Linked DNA regions of Homo sapiens: region 2 is linked to region 1. Evidence: promoter capture Hi-C in human tissues and cell types (Jung and others, 2019). All regions are on one chromosome and are shown on one strand. The core of a region is centred on a gene start or on the middle of the fragment in contact, and the rest is flanking DNA. Distances in the headings are between cores, read along the strand shown. Region 1 holds the start of LRRC53 (leucine rich repeat containing 53). Region 2 overlaps ERICH3 (glutamate rich 3).

The links. The method cuts DNA at HindIII sites, captures the fragments that hold promoters and counts their contacts. A contact is called where the count stands out against the background at its distance.
Region 2: a fragment that was not itself captured here is called in contact with the fragment with the promoter of LRRC53 in region 1 in 2 of the 25 tissues and cell types used here (H1 embryonic stem cells and bladder).

Annotation. Positions count from the first base shown.
Region 1 is chr1:74,508,807-74,515,812 of GRCh38, forward strand. LRRC53 (leucine rich repeat containing 53) reads right to left here and starts at 3,805. Exons shown (of 5, transcript NM_001382280.1): 1 at 3,720-3,805. The region is part of intron 25 of FPGT-TNNI3K (FPGT-TNNI3K readthrough); the gene reads left to right. All of the region lies in intron 23 of TNNI3K (TNNI3 interacting kinase), which reads left to right. The HindIII fragment of the contact is 11,973 bases long and covers 1-6,921 here.
Region 2 is chr1:74,600,460-74,607,465 of GRCh38, forward strand. It overlaps ERICH3 (glutamate rich 3), which reads right to left. Exons shown (of 15, transcript NM_001002912.5): 10 at 6,142-6,443. All of the region lies in intron 1 of ERICH3-AS1 (ERICH3 antisense RNA 1), which reads left to right. Among named protein-coding and RNA genes, the nearest start is that of ERICH3-AS1, 27 kb to the left of the region's middle. The HindIII fragment of the contact is 3,324 bases long and covers 1,812-5,135 here.

The sequences.
Region 1 (7,006 bases), core at 2,555-5,054:
TTCTAATCCCACCTCTGCCTTTAAGAACAGTGTAAACTTGGGCCTCAGTAACTAAAATAGGGACCATAATATTACCTTGTCTGGTTTTTACAGGGTCTGCAGAAAATTCATATAAAACACTTAATATCATCCCTGAGAAACTTATGTTGTTTTGTTTTAAACTAAAGATAAATGTCCCTATTTCACAGTTCTACCCACGGATGGATAAACCCCTTTCTGAGGGTGAGAAATGAAAGCCTGTGTCTATCTGAAATTCGGGATCCTTATTCAGACACTTTCTTCTTCTTTTTATCACTTATTCTCTTTGAGATAGTAGAGCACTCCTTTTTCCTCATTAAATAGCAGCTTTACCCATAAATTTCTCACAGCTTTTCCTTACTTATTTACACTACTTGATTGTCAAATTTGACAGTGTTGACCATTCCTCAGTCAAGTTGCCATTTGGAATAACTTAAAGGTTTCTGGATGTTTTCTACCCAGCAGCTATTTATGACAATGACAGAAATCAGGAAAATGACATTTGAGGGTTTCAATTTTTCTCTATAATCCCTGAAAATAAAGCGATAGTCAATTGTGAATGTGGCTGCTGAATGCTAGAGTACTACATAACAATAGAAAAGATTTAAGATGCTTGAGAACTAACAAATCTAAATTTATTGGTTTTACACAAATGAATGATTTTCATTTTATTTTAAAAATTGTCCTTTATTGTTTAGGGCAAGATAAATCGTATACTCTTTTCTTCAATAATATTTTATCAGATTAACATAGAGGACAATGAATTATGAAATTATGAAATAAATAAAATTGAGGACAAAGCACCAATATTAAAATGTTGATTGTTGTTTTTGTCATGTCATATATGTTAAGGAATAGAGTGTTGTGTTTGATTTTGAAAGGTACCTATGAACTGCTTTCTGGTTTTGAGTGATCTGAATTTCTTTTTTTTTTTTTTTTTTTTTTTTTTTTTTGAGACAGGGTCTCACTTTGTTACCCAGTACAGTTGTGCGATTATGGCTCACTGCAGCCTCAACTTCCCCAGGCTCAGGTGATTTTCCCTCCTCAGCTCCCCAAGTAGCTGGAACTACAGGCATACGCCACTGCACTTGGCTAATTTTTGTATTTTTTGTAGAGACAGGGTTTCACCAAGTCACCCAGGCTGGTCTTGAATTCCTGAATTCAAGCGATCTGCTTGCTTTCCAAGGTGTGAGCCTATGCGCCCAGCTTGAATTTCAATGTCACAGATTTTCTATTGCTTGTGTATTCTTTGGGTATTTTATTTCTTTTGTAAAAGGTAGACAGTTCTGAGTTTAAACATGACTTAGAGATGTTTAACTACATTTCTTACCCCCTGATTTTTACTTCCTGAGATCAGTAGTAGAGAGGGCAATCAGTTCTCACCTTTTAAAAAGATCTGAGGCCAGGTGCAGTGGCTCACGCCTGTAATCCCAGCACTTTCGGAGGCCGAGGCGGGCAGATCACGAGGTCAGGAGATCGAGACCATCCTGGCTAACATGGTGAAGCCCCGTCTCTACTAAAAATACAAAAAATATTAGCCGGGCATGGTGCCTGGCGCCTGTAGTCCCAGCTACTCAGGAGGCTGAGGCAGGAGAATGGCTTGAACCCGGGAGGTGGAGCTTGCAGAGAGCCGACATCGCGCCACTGCACTCTAGCCTGGGTGACAGAGTGAGACTCCGTCTCAAAAAAGAATAAAATGAGAAAAAAATTATTGAGAGATTGTCAAATCTCTTGAATTTTTAAAAAATTATTGCTCATTAAATTAAACAGCACCTTGTCTATAATTTGTTCAAAACTACCAACTACCAGATCTATGTGTTATACTTTGTTAAATAAACTTCCGTTTCTCTTTGGGAAAGACATATATAGGATCTTGAACAGTATATAAAGTTTAATTAAATATGGCTAGCATTGAAAAGTTCATGGAATTAATCAACTAGCTCACAAATGTGTGTTGATTTCCCTCTAGGTACACAGCACTGTGTCTGCCCCTACCCAGAGAGGCCCAGTATTTTGATAGCTAGTCTTGTATTCTTGTATAAAGAGTTTTAGCAAACTGAATATGCTTTTTTTCTTTTTTGAGACGAAGTCTCACTCTTGTCCCCCAGGCTGGAGTACAATGGTGCGATCTTGGCTCACTGCAACCTCTGCCTCCCAGGTTCAAGTGATTCTCCTGCCTCAGCCTCCCAAGTAGCTGGAATTACAGGCGTCTGCCACCATGCCCAGCTAATGTTTGTATCTTTAGTAGAAACAGAGTTTCACCATGTTGGCCAGGCTGGTCTGGAACTCCTGGTGATCACCTCAGGTGATCCATCCGCCTTGGCCTCCCAAAGTGCTGGGATTACAGGCGTGAGCTACCGTGCCCGGCCTATTTTTTTTTTTTCCGAGATGGAATTTCGCTCTTATTGCCCAGGCTGGAGTGCAATGGTGCGATCTCGGCTCACCACAACCTCTGCCTCCCGGGTTCAAGCAATTCTCGTGCCTCAGGCTCCCGAGTAGCTGGGACTACAGGCACACGTCACTACACCCTGCTAATTTTTGTATTTTTAGTAGAGATAGGGTTTTGCCATGTTGGCCTCGAACTCCTGGTCTCGAACTCCTGACCTCAAGTAATTCACTCTTATTTTCTTTATTTAAAGAATTAACAATATATTACTTACAGGTGGAAAACACAAATGTATGTGTCATTTTCCCTATTACGCTAGCCTCTTCACTGATCTAATTCCATTGGATATGCATTTATCTATCATTTATTAAGCAGCTCTTATATATTGAATCATGTAGTAAATATTGGACACCCAATGATGGATTAGAGATCTCTTCAGTCCTGGGGGAATTCACAGTTTAAGGGAGGAGGTCAGAGAAACACACAGGAAGATAAGTACTGAGCCATGTGTAGGAAGCCCTGTGAGCCTGAGAAGAGTCAAGGTAGGCTTCCCAAAAGCCATCCCGTTTCACTTGAGTTTGGCAGAGTTAACCAAGCAGAGAAAGGAAGAAAGAGTGTACTAGGAAAGGGAAGCAACAGGGACAAAGGCAGGAAAGTGGGAACCTGCACAGTACATTTGGGAACAGCAAAGGGTTGAGTGTGGGTAGAGCAGAAGCTATAGATGAGGATCTAAAGTCAATAGAAGTAGAAATAAAAGAACATGGAGTCAAGTAAGTTCAGTACCCAAGGAAAATCGGAAGGAAGAGGGCAGCTTTCCTTCATGCAGCTTCCCTTCCAGTCACTGAGACCTCAGACTCTTCTCTTCATTCAGGCAGTGAGCATGAAAAGATCTGGATGGGACTGGATATAGCAGCCACCAGTCTTTATTGAAATAGCCCTGGGGCATGACTCGAACCTGTGAGGGACCATAAAGGGGCATGATTTCTGCAGCTGTGTTTACTGTCAGTGATTGTACAGACTCAAACATGGAGCTAGGGATAATATGGTAATCTAGATGAGACATGAGTGACATAGACACAGTAGAGCTCCACCTTGAACCCAAGATTGGCCCCTAGAACTGTGCAAAACAGGCAACACTGCAGGGTGGCTCATGGCACTCAACTATTCCTGCACTGATGACATTCCTGTACTGATGACATCACCCACATGATCATCTGTTTATAAGTCTGTCTCTTTAAATGGTGAGGAAAGAGAAATAAAGGTGTAAAAATCCAGCCATCATAACAAAAACACCAAAAGAAAGAAATTAACTTACCCAAAGGTCTCACAGCTTGTAGTTTGTGAATCTCTACATTAAAAGGTGGATGATGAATCTGAGACCTACTGAGTTAACTGTCCAGCATCTCAGCCATATGCCTTATTCCTCTTTATATGCATCTCCACTCCCACACCACCCCCTCCTGGCTTCATCCTTTAGTGCCTGGAATAACGCCTGGCACATGGTAGTTACTCATCAGAAGTCCACTGAGTGAAAGAACAAACACCTACCACTGACGGGTTGCTATTTATACCATTCTGTCTTCACTGTTGGGAGCTTCATACTGTATTCTTCAAAATGGGCACCCCCTGCAGCATGCCTCACTCTACAAGGAAAACTTCTCTGTTAACAAGCCTTATGATGGGGTCACTATGTGATCACCTAAAGCTGGCCTTTTCTGTCCCTCATCCGGGTAAATGGCTCACCGTGGAAAACTATAGACGACTTTTGCCCTTTCACTAACATTCCTCTTGATAAGACACTTAAAGAGGAAAATAGTCTTGACTCTTTAAAGTTGATGCCAGTTTGGGGCTGTTAACAAAGTCAAGGGATTCTGTTGTTAGAATCAACCTAGCACACAGCTTGCTCAGTCGATACTGTTTCACTGGCCTGAGATTACAGCAGAGGTAGGTGCCTAAGATGAGGAAATGGTTGTGGAGAAAGAGTCCGAATGACCCAGAGGTCCACGTGTGCTTTCCTAGTTCGTTTATTCAGCTGATATTTATTGAGAAATTATACCGGGATGTGGAAATTTACTGAGTCCCTGTCCTTTCATTATTTTAATCCAGTGCACTAGGTGTTCTTATCAGAGTGAGTCCATGAAATGTTGGGGATGCAGGGGCACTGGTAGTAGGAGTTGAGAACCTGATGATGACTGTCTTTGCAATGTTCCCTCAGAAGAAAAGGTTTGTGCAGAAGGCACATCCCACTTCAGACTCCTGCACATCTGCAGAGAACTTTGCATTCTCACTGCAAGAGGAGTTCCTCTTCCTTTCATTTTTCTTCTCTTTGTCTTCCTTTTTTTCTCTATGCCAAACCTAAGCAAATCTGCTTCATCCAGAGGCAGCTGGCGCTACTATGTGGGAGTGTTAAATGTTTAACATCTTGTCACTTGCGTAACTGATGGAGTCATCCTTTTTGTTTCAGAGTTTCATGTTTAGGGGTTGAAAAGCTAGATTGATGAGCATTACCAGAGAGAAATATTTTTTGGAAAGTAAGTGAAGCTGATGACACATTACTTTACAGTTTAGTGAATTTCAGCAAATCTAATTCTATTATCCTGTCAAAGTTTCACAAAAAGGAGACCTGAAAGCATATTTTAGATGAATCTTTAAAGATTTCAAGAAGCCACAACCGCATCTGCAAAGCTCAGATGCATCTGGTGCTGACAGACCTTTGTTTTTCTATAGACTAAGGGGAGTAAATAATCTTCCAAAAACTAATTAAGTAAAGTTATCTTTGGTTGTACAGTGCCTGCCTCTCTCTCCCTTGAAAAGGTTGTCAGCCAGTAAACGATAACTGCGTTTTTCAATTCAAAGGCTATTCGAAGTTTGCATAGCCAAATTTACCCAGGCACACCAAAATAGAAGCTTCCTTTATGAATCATAGAGTCTTGTAATGCAGATTTTATAGAGCATTTAAAGCCAGATCATTTATGTCCTTGTTTATTTTCACAATCAAGTATAAGATACGGTCTAATAAATACATTCTGACCAAAATGCTAGGAGCAATTGTTTTAAAGCGTTTTCACACAATTCTATGTATTTGTCAGAGGCTTACAAGCTGACAAGCTGAAAGCGCTTTGTGATGCTTTTGGCAATTTGTGTGATTGTGTATACACTTGCACAGAAGTTCCTTATCGAGAGGAAGCATTTAAGTAAAAAGGGGAGCATTAATGAAAAGGTCCATTTTAATAGAAATTGCTGTTGTTCTCTACTATCTAACAATTATTCACTTAAGAAGAAAAGTCTTGATAGAATTTATTGAGAACCTACTATGTACTAGTACACATATTATTAATATAATATCCCCAATTATTTGCTAGGTAGATATTATCTCCATTTTGAAGATGGGAAAACTGGTCAAAACAGGAAACATCTTCTGAGATAGTAAGGGGGGAAGCTGGGATTGACTCCAGTCTATCTAATCCCAAAGCCATGTGTGCTCTTTTTAGGACACCATAAGAAATTCTGTTTGGAACTCATGATAAAAAACAAGATCAAGACTGTGGTAAAAATGTGAAGGGGTATTGTGGGTTGAATTGTATCCCCCAAAAAGATATGTTGAAGTCTCAGACCCTGGTACCTCAAAATGTGACCCTATTTGGAAACAGGGTTGTTGCAGATGTGAGAAGTTCATAGGAGTTTATACTGGAGTAGGGTGGGCCCTTAATTCAAGATGACTTGTGTCTTTATAAGAAGAGCACAAAGACACGCAGAAGAATGGCATGTGAAGATGATGGAGGCAGGGACTGAAGTGCTCTACCTAGAAGCCAAGGAATATAAGGATCGTAGCCCTCACCAGAAACTAGGACATGGGCACAGAATTTTCCTCAGAATATTCCTTCAGAAAGAACCAACCTTGCCAACACCTTGACTCTGGACTTTTAACCTGCATAACAGTGAAAGAATACATTTCTGTTGTTTGAAGCCTTCAGGTGTTTGGAACTTTCTTATGGCAGCCCTAGGAAATGAATACAGAGGATGACATAACTTCATAGAGCTTAGGAAGAAAACAAACTCCAGACTGAATGTTAGGTCAGTGCCCTTCCTGAGGGTCATAGTCATGTTATTTTTCCTTCATCATTTGGGACTATGCGGAAAACCCACACCTAACCCAGTATGAGACTTGAAAGACATTTTTTGGTGCTTTGTCAGAAAATAAATATATGGTTAACCAAAGTTAAGGTGAAATTCTAACGTTTTATCATGCCAATACATATAGAAATGATACTAGGAAAGGGTGTGCTATTTGACTGAAGTTTCTCTGATGGTTGCTGTTGGCAACCAGTTTTACAAGAGGCACAAGTCTAATTAGGGCAGAAGTCAGGAAGAGATTGCAAGTAATTGAGGTCAGACATAACTCAGGGTGGGCAGGTGGCTGACATCCGATGTAGTCAAACTAAGGGGATCATGGTTTGAGGTGGGCAGACACAACAGGTGAGGGATGGAGACTGAACACTGATGGAAATAACTAAAAGCTGAATCTGGCAATGACATTCAAGTAGGTCAAAAAATAAGTATGATAAAAGCTAAGGGAAATCTGAGGTTTTTCTCTTCAGAAGC
Region 2 (7,006 bases), core at 2,224-4,723, 91 kb after region 1:
CAAGAAAAGGCATTATGAAGGATTCTATATGTAGGCCAGAAATGAAATCATATGCATTATTCATTCCTACAATAAATGAAATAATTACATTTCAATGATAAAAATTTACACAAAATAGAATATTCCTGTCACAGCCACATATTTGCTTTATTCCCTGCAGAGGTGCTATAAATCTGTAGCAGGAAAAGGAAATTGTCACATCAGATAAACTCCAGCTGTCCCTCGTGGTTATAATTTTTCACCTTTCATATTTAACTGTTCCCCTTTTTCTTCCACCAAAAACTAAAAATCTTGAAGTGACAACATGCCAAGGATAGAGAGCAAAAGGATCTCATGCAGAACCAATTAAGCAAATAAACAATTATCCTTAAAGTAAAAATTACCGAGAGAATAAATGTTTCTCAATTTTGTGTGTTTTAGTTATTAGCTATTCTGGCTTCTCTGTGGGGGAGGGGGGCCTCTCGGGTAATTTACTTGAGAGCTGTCCACCCAGTGAAAGAAACTTAATCTAGAAATGTATACCCTGTGCATATGCAGAAAGCTCTGTAAATACAGAGGATGAGGGAGATGTAAGGGGAAAAGTGAAATCAAAACCTATAACAAAGAAAATTAGATAATCACAAAAATGTTTCCACAAAAGAAATTTAATACATTTAAATATAAAATATGAATATCAGTAAACCAAAATTGTAAAATAAGCAAGAAGATGAAGAATTTGCTTTATGTTGCTAGACACAAACAGAAACTACTAATAAAAACGAGTAAATATTTTGATCCAAGTATTGCCGGCCAAGTTATAGGATAATTCCTCACCTGACCCTGTTAACTATCAATCAATAAGCCTATTTTTTGAGAATCTTCTATGATTAAGAGGATAAAATTGCAAGACAGAAGACATTACAATAAGACAATCCCGGCCATGAAAGACTCTCCAATTTTTATTGAGGAAAGAAGATGTAGGTACACAAGAAATACTGTACTCACTTTGTAGTAGTTTTTAATATGTGATCCTCAGTAATGTTTTTCAACACAATGGGGCTGGGTTGCTATAGATTTTTAGATAGGACATATAATTAATTATGTGAAGTAGTGTCAAGTAAGCAGAATGTAATGAAAGGAGGATGGAAAGTCATTTTAGGGACTCATGGAAGACTTCCCAAAAGAGGAAGGTAAGGTTAGCTACAGAATACACATACATATATCACACTACAGGAGTTTGCTACTGACCATAAGATAAGCAGAGGGCCAGAGAGAATATGAGTGGATTGCTGCAATTCCATCCATAGTGTTACATAGTAGTGAAATGTCAAGGTTTGGGAATCAGGCATTCATGTGCCCAAGACCCAGTTAAAACACTTACTGACTATGTGACCGTGGGCAATTTGTCTTTAAGCTTCAGTTTCTCCATCTGTAACATGGGTAATACAACGCTATGGTGAGTATTGAGAACAATAATCCCTGGAACATGCTTAGCACAGTGCCATGAATATCAGGGGCATAATAAATATTATGGATTAGTAGTAATCGTCCTTGTGATTGGGTAGTGAAGGGAGTAGATTATAGAACAGGAGAAATCACACACGATATGTACTCCTTTGACAGCAACACACTTTAGTGGAGGCACCTGATTAAAATCAGAGCAGTACAAGTGTCCACAATTAGGACACAATTACAGTTATATAATTGAGGCACAGCACAAAAGTGAAGGAACACGAAGTGAACCACAAGAACAGTCCCAGCATCGTATTTTGTGTTTTCTCTCAAATATGAAAGTCAAGGCTGCCCTGGCTTTATTCTATCCCTGCTATCATCACATTTAAGTATTAGCTTTCTGTTAACCACAAACCTTCCAAACTGTCATTATAGCTCAAAGCACACCACCTTTGTGTCATCTACTCATGTTTTTGATACGAATAAGCCAGCGACATGCTTTCTAAAATCTTTTACATAATTTCTTCTGTTCTCCCATCCCATTTGCCTTCTTCTAGAGAATTTAATTAGCTTGTTGTTTACCATCCCCACTAATGAGGACGTGAGTCAACACGGGGTCAACATCAATCTAGCCACAACCTTCTCTTGCTGACCTTGATTCAAACTTCTTGCTGTCCTTACATCAGCGACTATTATGCAGAGAGCTAAACCCTTGCGGCTGTGGCTGCATTTTTAAAAAAGGAAATGGACATTTAAAGTCCATTAACTAGCCAACACAGAAGAAAGAATTCAGGAAAAGCTTTATCATAGGTATCATGAGTATAAAGTACATCACTCATAGCACTAGTTATGTTGGTTTAAGAAAAAAAAAGAAAATGAAAAGCTTTCATTGAACATGACTTTCATAAACCACCATGCTTCAAAGTTAAAACACATGAAAACACATCCTATTTGTTCATACCTCTGTGATTACTATTGCTGCAGATATATTAAAATTCTCATCCCAAGATAAGACAAAGACTAGAAGAGATTGTGAAGAATGGTGAGCTGGTAAAAGTGCTCTAAGTGAAATCTTTTGTAAAAGATTCACTTTAGTCAGTAATAATCAAACATGAAGTCTAGTGCTATAACAGCCCTGTAATTATTCTCTTGGATTTCTGAAACACTTGGGCAGCAAAAATATGAGGTGGGGAAGAAGATACCTAGAAGTTGTCCCTTTCCCGAAGCCAGCCCTTCCACAGGTACCCCAACCCATGGTTATTGTGCCCCCTATCCAAGCTTTGTCTCTTGAGTATGAGGGACACAAAGCAGCTCTCCCTTTCTGATACTTTGGACACACTATCCACAACCATTTAGTGGGTAGGCTAACTTGTACAGAATAGAAGGTTGTATAGTGTTTGAAAGATTGAGCTTTGGAATTAGACAAACCTGGGTGCAAATTCTTATTCTGCTACTTTCTTTTTGTGTATCTAAGCCTCAATTTCCCAGCCTGTAAAATTGAAGTAGTAATAATACCTATCATGTTGAATGGTGAGGATAAAATGAGACAGTGTGTGCACAGTGCCTAGTTTGGTGCTCAGTGCTTGGCACTTTCATTATTGTTGTTATTGCTGCTTTAGGTATAAGCATATACAGGCATACCTATATACACATGTAAGTATATACAAGCATACCTAGATCTGTGAATGTATACCTATATATATATTCGATATACAGGTATACCTCAGGGATATTGCAGGTTCAGTTCCAGGCCATTGCAATAAAGATAGTGATATAAATTTTTTGGTTTCCCAGTGCATCCAAAATTATGTTTCTACTATGCTGCTGTCTGTTGAATATACAATAGCATTATATCTAAAAACCCAATGTATACACCTTAACTAAAATCACTTTATTGATAAAAGATGCTAACAATCATCTGAGCCTTAACTGGTCATCGTCTTTTTGCTGGTGGAGGATATTCCCTTGATGTTAGTGGCTCCTGACTGATCGGGGTGGTGGTTGCTGATGGCTGGGGTGGCTATGGAAATTTCTTAAAATAAGACAACAATAAAGTTTGCCACATCTATTGACTCTTCCTTTCACGAAGATTTATCTGTAGCATGCAATGCTGTTTAACAGCATTTACACACAGTAAAACCTCTTTTAAAATTGGGCTCAATCCTCTCAAATCCTGCCACTCCTTTATCAACTAATACATTTTATACATATTCTAAATTCTTTGTTGTCATTTCAACAATGTTCATGGCATCTTCAGCAAGAGTAGATTTCATCTCAGGAAACTTCTTTCTCTGTTCATCCCTAAGAAGCAACTCCTTATCTATTCAAGTTTTATAATGAGATTGCAAAAATTCAATCTCATCTTAGGCCCCACTTCTAATTCTCTTGCTATTTCTACCACATCTGCAATTACTTCCTCCACCAAAGGCTTGAACTCCTCAAAGCCACCTGTGAGGAATAAAATCACCTTCTTTCAAACTCCTGTTCATGTTGATATTTTTACCTCCTTCCATGAATCATGAATGTTCTTAATGGCATCTAGAATTGTGAATCCTTTCCAGAAAGTTCCCAATTGAATTTGCCCTGATCCATCAGAGGAATCACTATATATGGCAGCTATAGCCTTACAAAATATATTCCTTAAAGAATAAGATCTAAAATTACTCCTTGATCCATAAGGATAACAACAGAATGGATGTTGTGTTAGCAGGCGTGAAAACAACATTATCGCACTGCACATCTTCATCAAAGTTCTTGAGTGACCAGGTACATTGTCAATGAGTGGTAAGATGTTGAAAGAAATCTTTTTCCCTGAGCAGTAGGTCTCAACAGTGGGCTGAAAATACTCTGCAAACCATGCTGTAAATAGATGTGCTGTCATCCAGGCTTTGTTTGTTTCATTTATAGAGCAGAAGCAGATAAAATTTAGCATAAGGCTTAAGGGCCCTAGGATTTTTTGAATGCTAAATGAGCATTGGCTTCATCATGAACTCACCAGCTGCATTAACCCATAAAAGAAGAGTCAGCCTATCCTTTGAAGCTTTGAAGTCAGGTGTTGACTTCTCCTTTCTAGCTATGAATGTCCTAGATGGCATCTTTTTCCAATGTAAGGCTTTTTCATCTACACTGAAGACCTGCTGTTTAATGTAGCTACATTTATAAATGATCTTCGCTAGGTCTTCTGGATAAAATTGCAGCAGCTCCTACATAAGCACTTGCTACTTCACCTTGCAATTTCATGCTATGGAAATGACTTCTTTCTTTAACCCTCACGAACCAACCTCTGCTAGCTTCATACTTTTCTCCTGCACCTTCTTCACCTCTCTCAGCCTTCATAGAATTGAAGAGAATTAGGGCCTTGCTCTGACTTAAGCTTTGGCTTATGAGAATGTTGTGGCTAGTTAGATCTTCTATTGAGACCGCTAAAATACTCTATATATCAGCAATAACGATTTCTTTTTTATCATGCACATGTTCACTTGAAGTAGCACTCTTAACTTCCTTCAGGAACTTTTCTTTTGCATTCACAACTTGGCTAACTGCTTGGCACAAGTGGCCTAGCTTTTAGCCTGTCTTGGCTTTTGATATGCCTTCCTCACTAAGCCTAATCGTTTTTTTTTTATTTAAAGTGAAAAACATGAGACTCTTCCTTTCACTTGAACATTTAGAGTGTATTATGTAGGGTTATTAATTAACCTAATTTCAATACTGTTGTGGGTTAGGGAACAGAGAAGACCAAGCAGAGGGAGAGAGACTGGAGAACAGCTGGTCAGTGGAGCAGTCAGAAAATTGATTAACTTCACTTTCTTACATGGTACAGCTCATGGCACCCCAAAACAATTGCAATAGTAACAACACAGATCACTGATCACAGATCACCATGACAGATATCATAATAATGAAAAAGTTAGAAATATTGAGAAAATTTGAAACAGAGATGAAGTGAGCACATGCTGTTGGAAAAATGATGCTGATAGACTTTGGTGCAGGGTTGCCACAAACTTTTAATTTATAAAAAGTGCTATATTTGCAAAGCTTGCACAATAAAGTGAGCACAATAAAATGAGATGTGCCTGCATATATATGTGTGTATGTATATATATGAATGCGCGTGTGTCTGTGTGTGTGTGTGGGTGGGTGGGTGGGTGTATGTGTATGGAGAGAGGGAGACAGAGAAGCAGTGGAAGGCAGGAGAGAGGAAGGAGAGAACAGAGAAAAAAGAAGAAAGCAAAAGAAAAAAAGCAGACAGATAGGTTCCACAACCCTAAGCCTATAGTCAACTGCCTTTAGTTATGGCATACTCTATCACCATATAATCATATAGGTTGTACCTACCTGATGTCAAAGCAATTCATCAATTTCATGAAAAACAGTACATTCAAAAACTTTTAAAATAGGTAAAATTCTATTTGGTGAAAATGGTCTCTGCAGAAGTCAATAGAGTCTCTAACTCACATTGACATGTACTCATTCTCTCTCCTCATCTCTGCAGCCAGAACCTTTAACCTTTCTGGGGCTAGGTCTGCCTTCCTCTAAGGTAGGTGACACAGGACTCCATACAAAACAGCAAAGGAAGGAGGTCAGGGGCACCCCACATGTAACACAGCTGGGTAACATTTAATGGGTATTTTTGAAAATTTTGATCATCACATTTCAAAGACAAACGAAACAGCCACAGCTACAACAAAAGAAACTTGTGTTGTTGATTACCATATTTTAAAGTATTTTCCTGGTCGTCTTCCAAGACTTCTTGTCCTGGTTTTCCTTTACTTGTCATTTCCTCCACAGCAGTTACCACTTCTTTGAGCCCTGTTTTTATTTCTTGAGCTGAAAATTTGGCTGAAACAGAGGTTTTGTTCTCCTTGATCTCATTTCTTTTTGGTATCACATACTCTCTCTCTTTCCTCACTTTCCCCTCAGCCTTCTTCAGTTCCTCTCCTTTCTCAGTGCTCTTTTCTTTCCTAGATTTCGGCAAAGACGGTTTTTTGTCAAGGCCCATTGCAATAATGCACCTATGAAAAATATTAGCAGGAAGTGTTTGTTAACCCTTGTAGACAGCACAATGGAACCTCAAAGCTTTTGAAAGCACTTATCTCTTATTCCAGTAAAAAAAGACACAAAAATGTTTTGATTACAGTACACACTAATAAAAATAAACAATTAAAAAAGCTAATTAAAAATAAACTATTCTTTTTTGATACTAAAATCTTGTAAACAAACAACAAATTCTTAATAACGTTATCCACAATAATAAACAAAATAAAATAACTCGTCAACCAAGAACTATAGTTTCAAACTAAAATCTGTGTCTTCAAGTATATTTTTGGTCCTGAACAGTAACACATATCATAGATACAGAAATATAGGTGGGTATATAATTTTTCATACATAAAGACATATCTCAAGTCCTTAAATGAGAATTTTGTGATAATAGAACATGCAGATTTACAAACATAGAGAAGCTGATATAAAAATGGTCAGAAGAAGCAAGATGCCATTCAGTCTGATAAGTTATATTTTAACAACACAACAACAGTAACAAAAGACTTACAAGATTGGCTCTAAATAAATATGA